Linked DNA regions of Homo sapiens: region 2 is linked to region 1. The links are contacts of gene promoters, found by promoter capture Hi-C in blood cells and fetal thymus (Javierre and others, 2016). All regions are on one chromosome and are shown on one strand. The core of a region is centred on a gene start or on the middle of the fragment in contact, and the rest is flanking DNA. Distances in the headings are between cores, read along the strand shown. Region 1 holds the start of KLF7 (KLF transcription factor 7). Region 2 has its middle 14 kb from the start of PLEKHM3.

The links. The method cuts DNA at HindIII sites, captures the fragments that hold promoters and counts their contacts. A CHiCAGO score of 5 or more calls a contact.
Region 2: a fragment that was not itself captured here is called in contact with the fragment with the promoter of KLF7 in region 1 in 1 of 17 cell types (neutrophils); the score reaches 5.6 in neutrophils.

The regions. Positions count from the first base shown.
Region 1 is chr2:207,163,315-207,168,401 of GRCh38, forward strand. It overlaps KLF7 (KLF transcription factor 7), which reads right to left and starts at 2,634. Exons shown (of 4, transcript NM_003709.4): 1 at 2,153-2,634. The coding sequence starts at 2,254. It overlaps MIR7845 (microRNA 7845), which reads left to right and starts at 3,086; the gene lies at 3,086-3,184. RefSeq lists enhancers at 936-1,644, 2,246-2,345, 2,353-3,061, 3,062-3,769, 3,770-4,478 and 1 more and silencers at 2,836-3,475, 4,096-4,145. The HindIII fragment of the contact is 8,010 bases long and covers 1-4,007 here.
Region 2 is chr2:208,037,081-208,042,167 of GRCh38, forward strand. No RefSeq gene overlaps it. Among named protein-coding and RNA genes, the nearest start is that of PLEKHM3, 14 kb to the left of the region's middle. The HindIII fragment of the contact is 1,185 bases long and covers 2,372-3,556 here.

The DNA of each region.
Region 1 (5,087 bases), core at 1,384-3,883:
AGGGTTAAGGCAAAAAATGAGGGGGTTCCGAGGGGTGAAAAATCCTTTGCCTGTAGAAACTAAACTAGAGCTTCCCTGAATGGGGAGGAGGCAGAGGAGCAGGGGGAGGAGGGGAGAAGGAAGAGCAGAGATGGCTTCTTAGGAAACAATAGATCTAATACATCCTCTAGTTGTCAAACCGATGATGTTTCTTTGCAGATCTAGAGTTTGTCCTGGATGGTCTAGCCAGATCTAGAAAAGCAGGTTTCCTGTGAAGAGACCTTCCTCCAAATCTGGCTTTACTACTCTGAAAACTTGAACCAAAACAAAGTTGCATGATTCATCAGTAGGGAACGTTCTAACAAATAAAGCCAACTTTCTTCCTTCTAACACTGCTTAACAGTTAGTCACAAACAAGGGCTGCCTTGGGCAGGCTGACTAAATCAACAGATTCCCTTCTCTAACCTGTCTAGACAGTTGTTAATATGCAACCGATTCCATACCAGTGGGCTGACAGTGTGAAATGAAGGCTATTTCAGAAGATTTTGGTTTAATTAGCATTGGAAATAAAAGGAAGAAAAAGATCCAGTGAGACCCTTCATGAGACACACTCTCGTTAAGGATAAGGAAAAGGATGCATTGAAGAAAGACTTTATTCTAAAAATATGTGAACTGTGTATGTGTTTACAGAGAGACAGAGTCAAGCATCTGCTAGCGTCCTTGGACAAGAATGCATGTGTGGACACAGAGACACCAGACGCCAATACCTGGAGGAAAACTCACAGCCTCTGACCAGAAGTGAACTAGCAACAATGGTACAGTTAAAGGATCCGCCTTGCCACTCGGCTCCTTATACCAAAAGCCAAACCTCTTTTGCTAAAGCAGAGACTGTTACATCTCAGCCTCAAGCTGGCAAATCCTGCTTTGGATCCCGGCAGAGGAAATTCAGCCGTTCATTAGCCTTAACAAGCTGCTGTCACTAAGCGAAGAAATTACACGAGCAGCCACACACCGAGCCTCTCACAGCCCTCCCCCCAAGGGCAAGCGGGTTTCTCCAGGACGGACTGTACAAGTTCACACTTCCTATGTGCAAATCCGGACTGTCTTCTTGGACTTTCCATGGTGCACACTGTACAATTTTTAAATACCCGTGTCCCCCCGCCCCCACCCACCATCTTTCCTGCAGAATGTCCCCTCAGCAGCTCCTAATCGCTGCTGAAAAAAACCACTGTTTCCGCAGCAGAGCCAGCACTTTCCACTGACCAGCACTTTCTTTATTCCACTTCACAAAGCCCAGTGAACTTGTCACCAGCCCCACTTCATCCTCCCTGGGACGGCTAGCCAACTTGGCATCGGTGCCCTTCAGCATCCTGGGAGTTTCTTAACTAGTCCTCTAAGACAAAGTCAAAGGCATGGAAGCACACATCAGCCTTTGTCCGAGGTTGTGCTGCCTAACTAGAGAAGGACCCTAAACAAAAAAGAGAAACAAGGACACGCATAGAGGGTGTTCTCTTTCTGGAGGGATCACACTGGGAAAACCTACAATTCATTGTCAGCCTCAGCTACATCTTCCCGTCCTCCTTGAGTATCTTTTGTCAGTGGGCTCTTCTCTCTTTTGCCTACCTTCTAATCTCAAAATCAAGCTCCTATTCTTTATTGACACTCGCTAATTACTGAAAAACACTCCGCTTTGCTCCTGCCCACCCTCCCCCGCCCCCCATCCGATGGTCATAAGCACCAGTTGAAACAGATGAACCTGATTTCAGGTATCAAGTGGGTAGAGCTCATGCATGCGAGAACGTGGTCCCTGTCAGCAATCGCTCCTAACACCCCAAACCACCTTCCCACCCGGCTCCTCCGAACCCCAGAAGTTCGGCAGGTCTCTGATAGGGGACAGCAAACCCGACAACGTGTGCGCAGGGATGTGTGTTGGCGACTGAAACGCAGGCAGCTCGCACCGGCTGCTCAGCTCGGCACTCTACGAGGTTAGGGGTGGGTGGAGAGGTAAGCGCAGATGACTGTTTCAGAAAACATTTTCAACAACAGACAGCCAAAAAGGAAGAAAAAAAAGTCAAACAAACAAACAAAAATTTCAACCCAGAGCCCACACCAACGCAGCCCCTGCGTCTCCGCCGCCACCACACGATTTACACAAGTAATTTAAATCATTCACCTGCTGCCAGGTCTCCTCCAGGGATGGTAAAGCTGAGAAGTAGCCGGTGTCGTGGACAAGTTGTAGCTCCTGGAATATACTATAACTAGCCAACACGTCCATGCTGCTGCTGCCGGGCAAAACGGGAGGCGAAACCCTCCCCCGAACACAGTTGGGGCTGTTTGTTTGTCAGTCTGTCTGGCTCACCCCCCAAGAAGGCAGACATCCAGTGGCCCTTTTGTTTTGTTTTGTTTCAGTCAACTAAAAAGGAAAAAAAAAAATCAATGCAGGAGAGGGAGAGAGGAGGTGAGAGAGGAGCGAGTGAGTGGGGTGGATGGAGAGAGGCATCCAGCGTGTACAGTGCAGACGACTGCCAGGAAAAGGGGACTTCTCCACGGGAGTAACAATTCCCTTCCAGGGCTCTAATCACTCCAGCTCGTGGATCAGGAAGGGGGATGCAAACTCACTGACACGAAGCTGCCATCTATTTCTGCAGCGCTGTTCGCTCCTAATGCAATCTTTGCTCTTTATTTTGGGAGGTTGCATTTTTTTCTCTCGCGATCGCTTCTCTTCCCCCCCCTTCCCTTCCCTCCCCACCCCCCACCCCATCCTTGCTAGTTTGTAGTCTTCCCCCTCCCTTTTCTCCTCCTCCTGCTCTTCCCCCTCCCCAAACTCCCTCCCTCCGTTCGGTTCTCCGCGCAGCCGTGGGATCTCGAGGAGGGCGTCCATTAGGCCGCGTGTGACCATGTAAGGTAAACAGGGGGCTCATGAAGTCACTGAGGACCAATGGGGAGCCCGGAGCAGAGCCTGGGGCGGGGCTTGGCCCTGGCGGCGGGCGCGGATTGGCACGCTGCGGATCTCCCTGCTGCCTTACAAGGCGGTGCGAGGCGAGCTATTTTTAGAGGGCTATATAAGGGGGCTGAGGCGGCCGCCCGGCGGCCGGGCAGCGCGAGCGCAAGGGACAGGGAGGGTCGTGGCGACACTCGCGCCAGCTCCCGGGACGGCTGGGCTCGGGCTGGTCGCCGACCTCCGACCCTCCACTAGATGCCTGGCAGAGCCCGGCGCGTCCGGAGCCCGCGCCCCTCAGAGGGAAGGGGTCGCGCGTCGCCGCGGCGGCCCTGAGGCTGACGGTCGGGAGGTGAAAGGCCGGAGTGCGGGGTCAGGACGCCTCCTGGAGGGGGCGCGGCGCAGGGGGCCGCGGGGAAGCCGCCGAGGGCGCGGAGCGGGAAGGAAGGACAGTGGCCACCCCGCCTCCGCCTGGGCACGGGGCAGGGACCCGCGCGAGGCGGTGCCGGGGAGGTCCTCACGTACTCAAAAACAAGCAGAAAAGGCATCCAGGGCCCCTTCCCGAACTCCCCACGGGCTGCCAGGGTGCAGAGAAGAAGCGCCTGAGGAGGAAGTGCCACACAATGGGAGAGAACAAAGGGGAGCGGAGCGAGACCGCGGCCTGCGCCCGCCCCCCGCTTGCGCACAGTCCCCGCCCCGCCCCGCGGGCGCCGCCGCCGCCGCCCTCCCTCCCGCGCCTCCTTCTGACCCCGAGCGAGAGACCTGGTCGGGAGTCCGGCGGCTAGAGTTGATTGCAAGGGGCCTGTTGCTCGACTGTGCGTTAAAGAGGCTAGAGGGAGCCTAGGTAGACGTGGGGCGCAAGCTGGAGCCGGCAGCTTGCGAGGGGGCCTTTACGTGATGAGGCTCACCATGGGGTCTCCAGCGAGGTGTCTGCAGAGCTTCGATGGTGAGAGGAGGAACTCGATTTCTCGTTTTCTGGAGTTGGGATGTAGACATAGAGAGATCTGTTACATCTGAGATGAAAACCCTGCACAATTCACGTTAGGGTTGGCCAATTGTTTGCTTGACCTTAAATGGTTAGTGTGGTTTAAGCTTCCCCAAAATGCGCTGTGAGCTGAGCTTCCACTTTTGGAATGATTGCAGAATTCGGTGCTTAAGAGATGAGAAACTTCGTTCTACCAGTAATGGAAGAAACGCTTCACCTTAATCACCCTCCTTGTCTTTCCCCTCCCTTTGACTATGTAGGACTCGATAACACAACATTTGAAAGATTCTACTCTATGAAATAAGCACAGATTGAAATTCAGTATTTGCCAAGGAATATTAAACATGAATTACTGGGATTGAGGAAAGCCTGATTTATTTACTTGTTAGTGTCTGGAATTCTGTTGGCCAGATTCATAGCATTCATTGTATGAGTATAATTGGAACATTTACTCTAATGTAGATGCAGATGCATCTGCAATTAGATGTGCAAGGACGCTGCCAGCTAACTAGCTGCACGACTTTGAGCGAATTACTGGGTCAGAACTTGTATCTACCCATCTCAGAAACAGAAATAGTGGGATCCGCGTTGTCTAGTTGTTATGAAGAGTCAAAATATCTTTGGTAACTCACCTAGCATAGTATCTGACACTATTAGGTGAATACTAAATATTAGCTATCATTGTCTCCCCACTTGAGCTATGTAAACTAATAGGACCTTTAGGAGAATATACTATTAATAGAATCTTGGAGATAGAGGAAAGGTAGAAACCCCTTGCTAGTTTGTTACAAGGTCTCCCCTTCTCCATGCTCTCCCCTGACCCCCATGCTATTTCAACTGGGGGGATGGGCAGGAACCATTGAGAAACACTAGGGCAAAAAACATGTTCATGAATAATAGGGGAAGGAAAGGAACTTGGGTATAGAAAACTAGAGGCAAAAGGTGAGGCAAGACCAACCATATAATTTGGTACTTGAGACTCAAGTGAACTTATTTTGTGTGTGTTACATTATAACAATTTTTGAATAAAATAGGACATATCGGTTAACGTGAGTTTGAAGATTTTACAAATAATAGTTCCCATTTATTAAGCACTTCGAATGTGCCGTATGCGCATAAACACTTTATATGCAATGTCTCATTTAATCTTAAGGACAGCCCCAAAGTATCCCCAACTTTATGGAT
Region 2 (5,087 bases), core at 1,714-4,213, 870 kb after region 1:
CTGCTCATTGCAACTTCCGCCTCCCGAATTCAAGTGATTCTCCTGCCTCAGCCTCTGGAGTAGATGGGATTACAGGCATATGCCACCAAGCCCAACTAATTTTTTGTATTTTTAGGAGAGACAGGGTTTCACCATGTTGGCCAGGTTGGTCTCGAGCTCCTGACCTCAAGTGATCCACCTGCCTCGGCCTCCCAAAGTGCTGGGATTACAGGCATGAACCACCCCGCCTGGCCCAGCAAGACCCCCATCTCTAAATAAAACATAAATAAATAAAAGAATCAGGACATCTGAATTAGAATCCTAGCCACAAAGTGTAGGATTAGGAATTATATTTACTACTCTTCACAATACCAAGCACAATGATGGTCTATAGGAAGATCTAATGAGCAATTTATATTTGTAATGTTGAAGACAATCAGGATTCAGAATTATACTTGGGTTTCAACAGTGATTTTTAAGGATTTGTTGTTATTTTGTTTTTTTGTTTTTCAGATAAAGGAATACTAGACATCAAAATGTTTATTAGGTGATGGACATATAGTCATCCTTCCAGTTTAAGATCTAAGAGCAATACTCAAACAGAAATCAAATAAATGTCTATGACAATTAAGGCAAACATACTCATTTGTCTACAAGCAAAGAGCATTTTGGAAAGAACACTCCCTTGTTCAAATTTTGGTGAACTGGTTGTGGAGACAAAAGTGACTCCATCTTGGATGCTAATCTGCCATGTTGACTTCTGATTAACCCCAGTCTGGGGAATGCCTCTAAGATTTCTATTTTTATCTATGTATACTGTCTGTAAATCCTGTTCTTAGGCCAAGACACCCTTGATGTTATCAAATCCTGCCCTTAGGCTATGACACACATAGCATTCTTCCCTTTTCCTGAGAGGTGGACTTCAATTGTCCTTATACATTCCTTCTAAAGCACATATACCCTTTCTCTGTGGTATATATCTGGGAGAAAACTGTGGAAATCTACCTGTCTGGCAGCTGCCCAAGACCATCCTTTTGTCCATAAGTTCCCCAGTAAATAACCCTCTACTGACAAACTGGATTTGTCTGCCTTGTTCTTTGGTTTCTTGGTTCCTTCTGCATTTGGGGGTTGGTTTGCGTATATGGCCCTTTCATGAAGCACACATCATGTCTTTTGTTTTTTTATTTTTAAGATACCAGGTCTTGCTCTGTTGCCCAGACTTGAGTGCAGTGGCGCAATCATAGCTCACTGCAGCCTTGAACTCCCACCTCAGCCTCCTGAATAGCTGGGACTACAGGATCAGGCCACTACACCTGGCTAATTTAAATTTGTCTTTCTCTTTTTTTACAAAGATAGGACGTTGCCCAGGCTAGTCTAAAACTCCTGGCCTTAAGTGACCCTCTTGCGTTAGCCTCCCAAAATGTTGGTACTATAGGCACGAGACACTGCACCTGGCCTGTTTTTTTGTTTTTTGTTTTTTTTTTATATCTTACCTAAGGTCCACTCCTATCTCTAACAGCCCCATCTCTTTTCTTTTCTTATGTGATCTAAAAATCTTCCCCCAACACTACACTGAGACCCAAATGAGCTTTTTTTTTTTTTTTGAGATGGAGTTTCACTCTTGTTGCTCAGGCCAAGATCATGCCACTGCACTCCAGCCTGGGTGACAGAGTGAGACCCTGTCTCAACAACAACAACAACAACTGCAGATCAAAGTTAAAGAAAGTAAGAACTAAATGGAGCATCTTTTTAGTTTTACCAAGTAGACTATTTCTTTGTCTAGGATGTCTTTCTAGAACCCAGAAACAGAAAATGGCTCTTTTATCCTGTTGGCTTCAATATAATCATTCTTCCTAGGAGGCATATGATGTGGGTGATGGGTGGGTATGTGGTGGGGAGAGGCCCTGTGATACTTAATGAGCTGCAAATAACTCACTCCCATGTATTTGTGTGAGTGGAGTCACCCTACCTACTTATGCTAGCCTGTTTTCACACTCAGTTGATTCAAAAACTGTTGAATCAGACCACTCTGGAGCTTCTGAAAAAGTCCTCCAGACAACGGTGGGCAAGAGCAGGTTGCAACCAGGTTCCATTTACGGCAGTGTTTCTGAATGTTGTTTTGTACATTTTTATTACAAAACAGTTCACGATCGAACTTATTCACACTTTCATGTTGGAGCACTCGATCCTTCCTAAATAAATTAATGTTGCCCCGTTTCCACATTCTGTGTCTGGGATATAACTTGTCTTCAAATATAAGTAAGCATTCTCATTATCAGAAAAAAGAGTTGCAAGGCATCAGGAGAGAGAGCCACAGAGGAAAATATTCCAAAGATCTTGGCATTCTTCCTATAACTTTTGTACCCTCAATCTTTTTCTTCCACATTTATGAAGCTTTTAAAACATTTTCCACCCTGAATGGCACACATTTACTGGGGTGACTTTACATTGTTTGCATTATTGTGGTTCTGGGACGTGAAGTTCTTAGAGGACAGGGGCATGTTTAGAATCACATCCTACAGAGAAGTGTTTAGTAAGTAGGAATGAGAAACATCGTCCGCAAGCATTTAAGGGAGTCTGTTTCCATTTTCAGTAAGGGCAGGTTGTCACTCAACAGGCAGATGACCCAATAGACACAGTGGTATGTTTGGTTCCTGGGAGGGATGGATGTGTAGAGAAAGGGAGGAAAAGAGGAAGAAAGCAACATTAAGCCTGATCCCTGCCATAAGCTGAGCTCCTCACCACACGCACATGCACGCACAGACACATACACACACACACACTCGCTCCTTGGCACGCAGACACACACAGAGCTTTGCTATTCTTCGGCTAATGGGATTGGCACCGCTTAAAGCAGACTGCTAGGTCATTGTCTGTGACCACAGCAAGAGAAACATTATTTAAAGACCATTCAGACCCTAAAAGAAGCGGCTGAGCAGAGTAATTATCGGAGACTCTCCATTAACTAGGGCATCTTTGCTCTTTGTCTGGGTTGGTTTAACAAGGCCCGCTAATGGGACTGTACAGGAGGGGTACACTAATGGTTCTAAAAAAGCCTCTTTTGGCCCCTTTATTACTGGGGACTGTCTTTAGAGATGCTGACAGTAAAGCAAGAAGTTACCATATTACAAAATGACCTTCCCAAAAATTTGATTTGGACCCTTGCAGCTTAGGACTCAGGTTTCCAAAATTAGAAAACATCTTTGTCTTCTCCACTTTTTAAAACTCTAAGTTGGTTCCCCGCTGCCCCCTGCCAACCCCCCGCTCCCCCGCCACTGTTCCTCTTACCTTACTTGGCCCTTTGGTTTCTTGGGAACTTGTCATTGGAAACAGCAGCACTCAGTGGTGATAAAGCAGAATGGCACTCCTGAGGAATTTCTCCTTGAGCTGGCTTCTCTACTCACTCTCCAGGACTCCACTTCTCTAGAAAAACTGCCTGTCCCATTATCACTTTTAAAATATGAAGCTAGAAGTCAATCACATGCTTACAAACCTAATACGGCCACCTAAATTAAAACTACTGTTCCATAATCAGTTAGCTTTATAACAAAGGCTTCAAATGCTTAGCTCTCCTAGAAGCTTGCATCACATACAGGGAACTCTTCTGTGCAGAGCTGTCTACCTCTCTTCATTTCCCCTCTCCCAACCCTAGACCAAGCTTCCATCTTCTCTCCTCTGGGTGACTGCAATTGTCCTGCAATCACCTCCTAGCAGCACTATTGGCCCTTTCAATCCATTAACTCTGCAACAGCCAACAGCCAGAGTAGCTCTTTCAAAACAGAAACCTGCTTAAGCATTTCAGTAGCTTCCTATTGCTCATAAGAATTCTTACTGTGATTTAAGAGACCCAGACATGGTCTGGTCCTTTTTTCCTCCCTAGCAACATCTTGTACCATGCTCCCCCTAGCGTCTGCTTCAGCCACTGCAGCCTTCTTCAATGCCATGAGCAATTCATGCTCATTCCTGCCACAGGGCCTTTGCATATCATTCTGTCTAGAACACTCTTTACCCGAGTAGTTTCCACTCATCCTTCAGCTCTCAGCTCAGTAGTCAGCCCTTCAGGAAAGTTGTCCCTTAGTGCCCCTTCTAGGTTGACGACGTCTATATCATGCAATTATAGCACCATATGCTCCTCTTCACAGCATTTACAGTAAACGTTTATACTTATCAGAATGCTTTTATGTTAATAATTACCTTGCTGTGAAACTGTAAGCTTCATGAGAATAACCACATGTTCCATAAGCAATAATTCTGCCTATTTTTGTTGTACCATCCTGTCCTCAGTGCCCAGTACAATGTTTGTGACCTGAGTGCTTAATAAATCTTTGTTGCATTGTGTATAGTGATTCAAAATACTGTACCCCGGCTCCTCCATGCCTGTTCGCAATTTTTTTTTTTTTTTAGATGGAGTCTTGCTCTGTCGCTCAAGTGATTCTCCTGCCTCAGCCTCCTGGGTAGCTGGGACTACAGGCACGTGCCACCACGCCTGGCTATTTTTTTTTCATTTTTTTTTTTTTTAGTAGAAATGGGGTTTCACCGTGTTAGCCAGGATGGCCTCAATCTCCTGACCTCATGATCTGCCCGCCTCAGTCTCCCAAAGTGTTGGGATTACAGGCGTGAGCCACTGCGCCTGGCCGCCTGTTTGCAATTTATCAACCAAAGTTTATTCCCTGAGAGGTTCCTATGTCCGGTATATTTGGGAACTACCTATATTCCATATTTTCTCAGATCAGCGTAAGGGGCCAGGTCTCTTTTCCTATGGGATTAAAGACTAATTTTCTAGTTTTAGGGGCAGAACTAGAAGCACATTCTCATTCCCCCTCTGAGAGCATCTTTACACAATAACAGACTCACAAGGCACAAGTAGACATACACAAGCTTTAGCGATGCCTCCTGTCTTCTCAAGACCCTGTGGGAAAGAGAACAGAGGGTCTATCCAAAGAAGAAGTTGAAGAATTAGAGTGTCTCAGCACTCCAGATATGCCAGCACAGAAATAGGTGGGTGGAATTGTTCCAATTATTTATGATCCCCAAGAAAACTGGGGACTTTCTCTACTGTTTAGAGAAGGAAGCATGGGCTTCAGTAGATGCAGAGTAACAGCATGGAT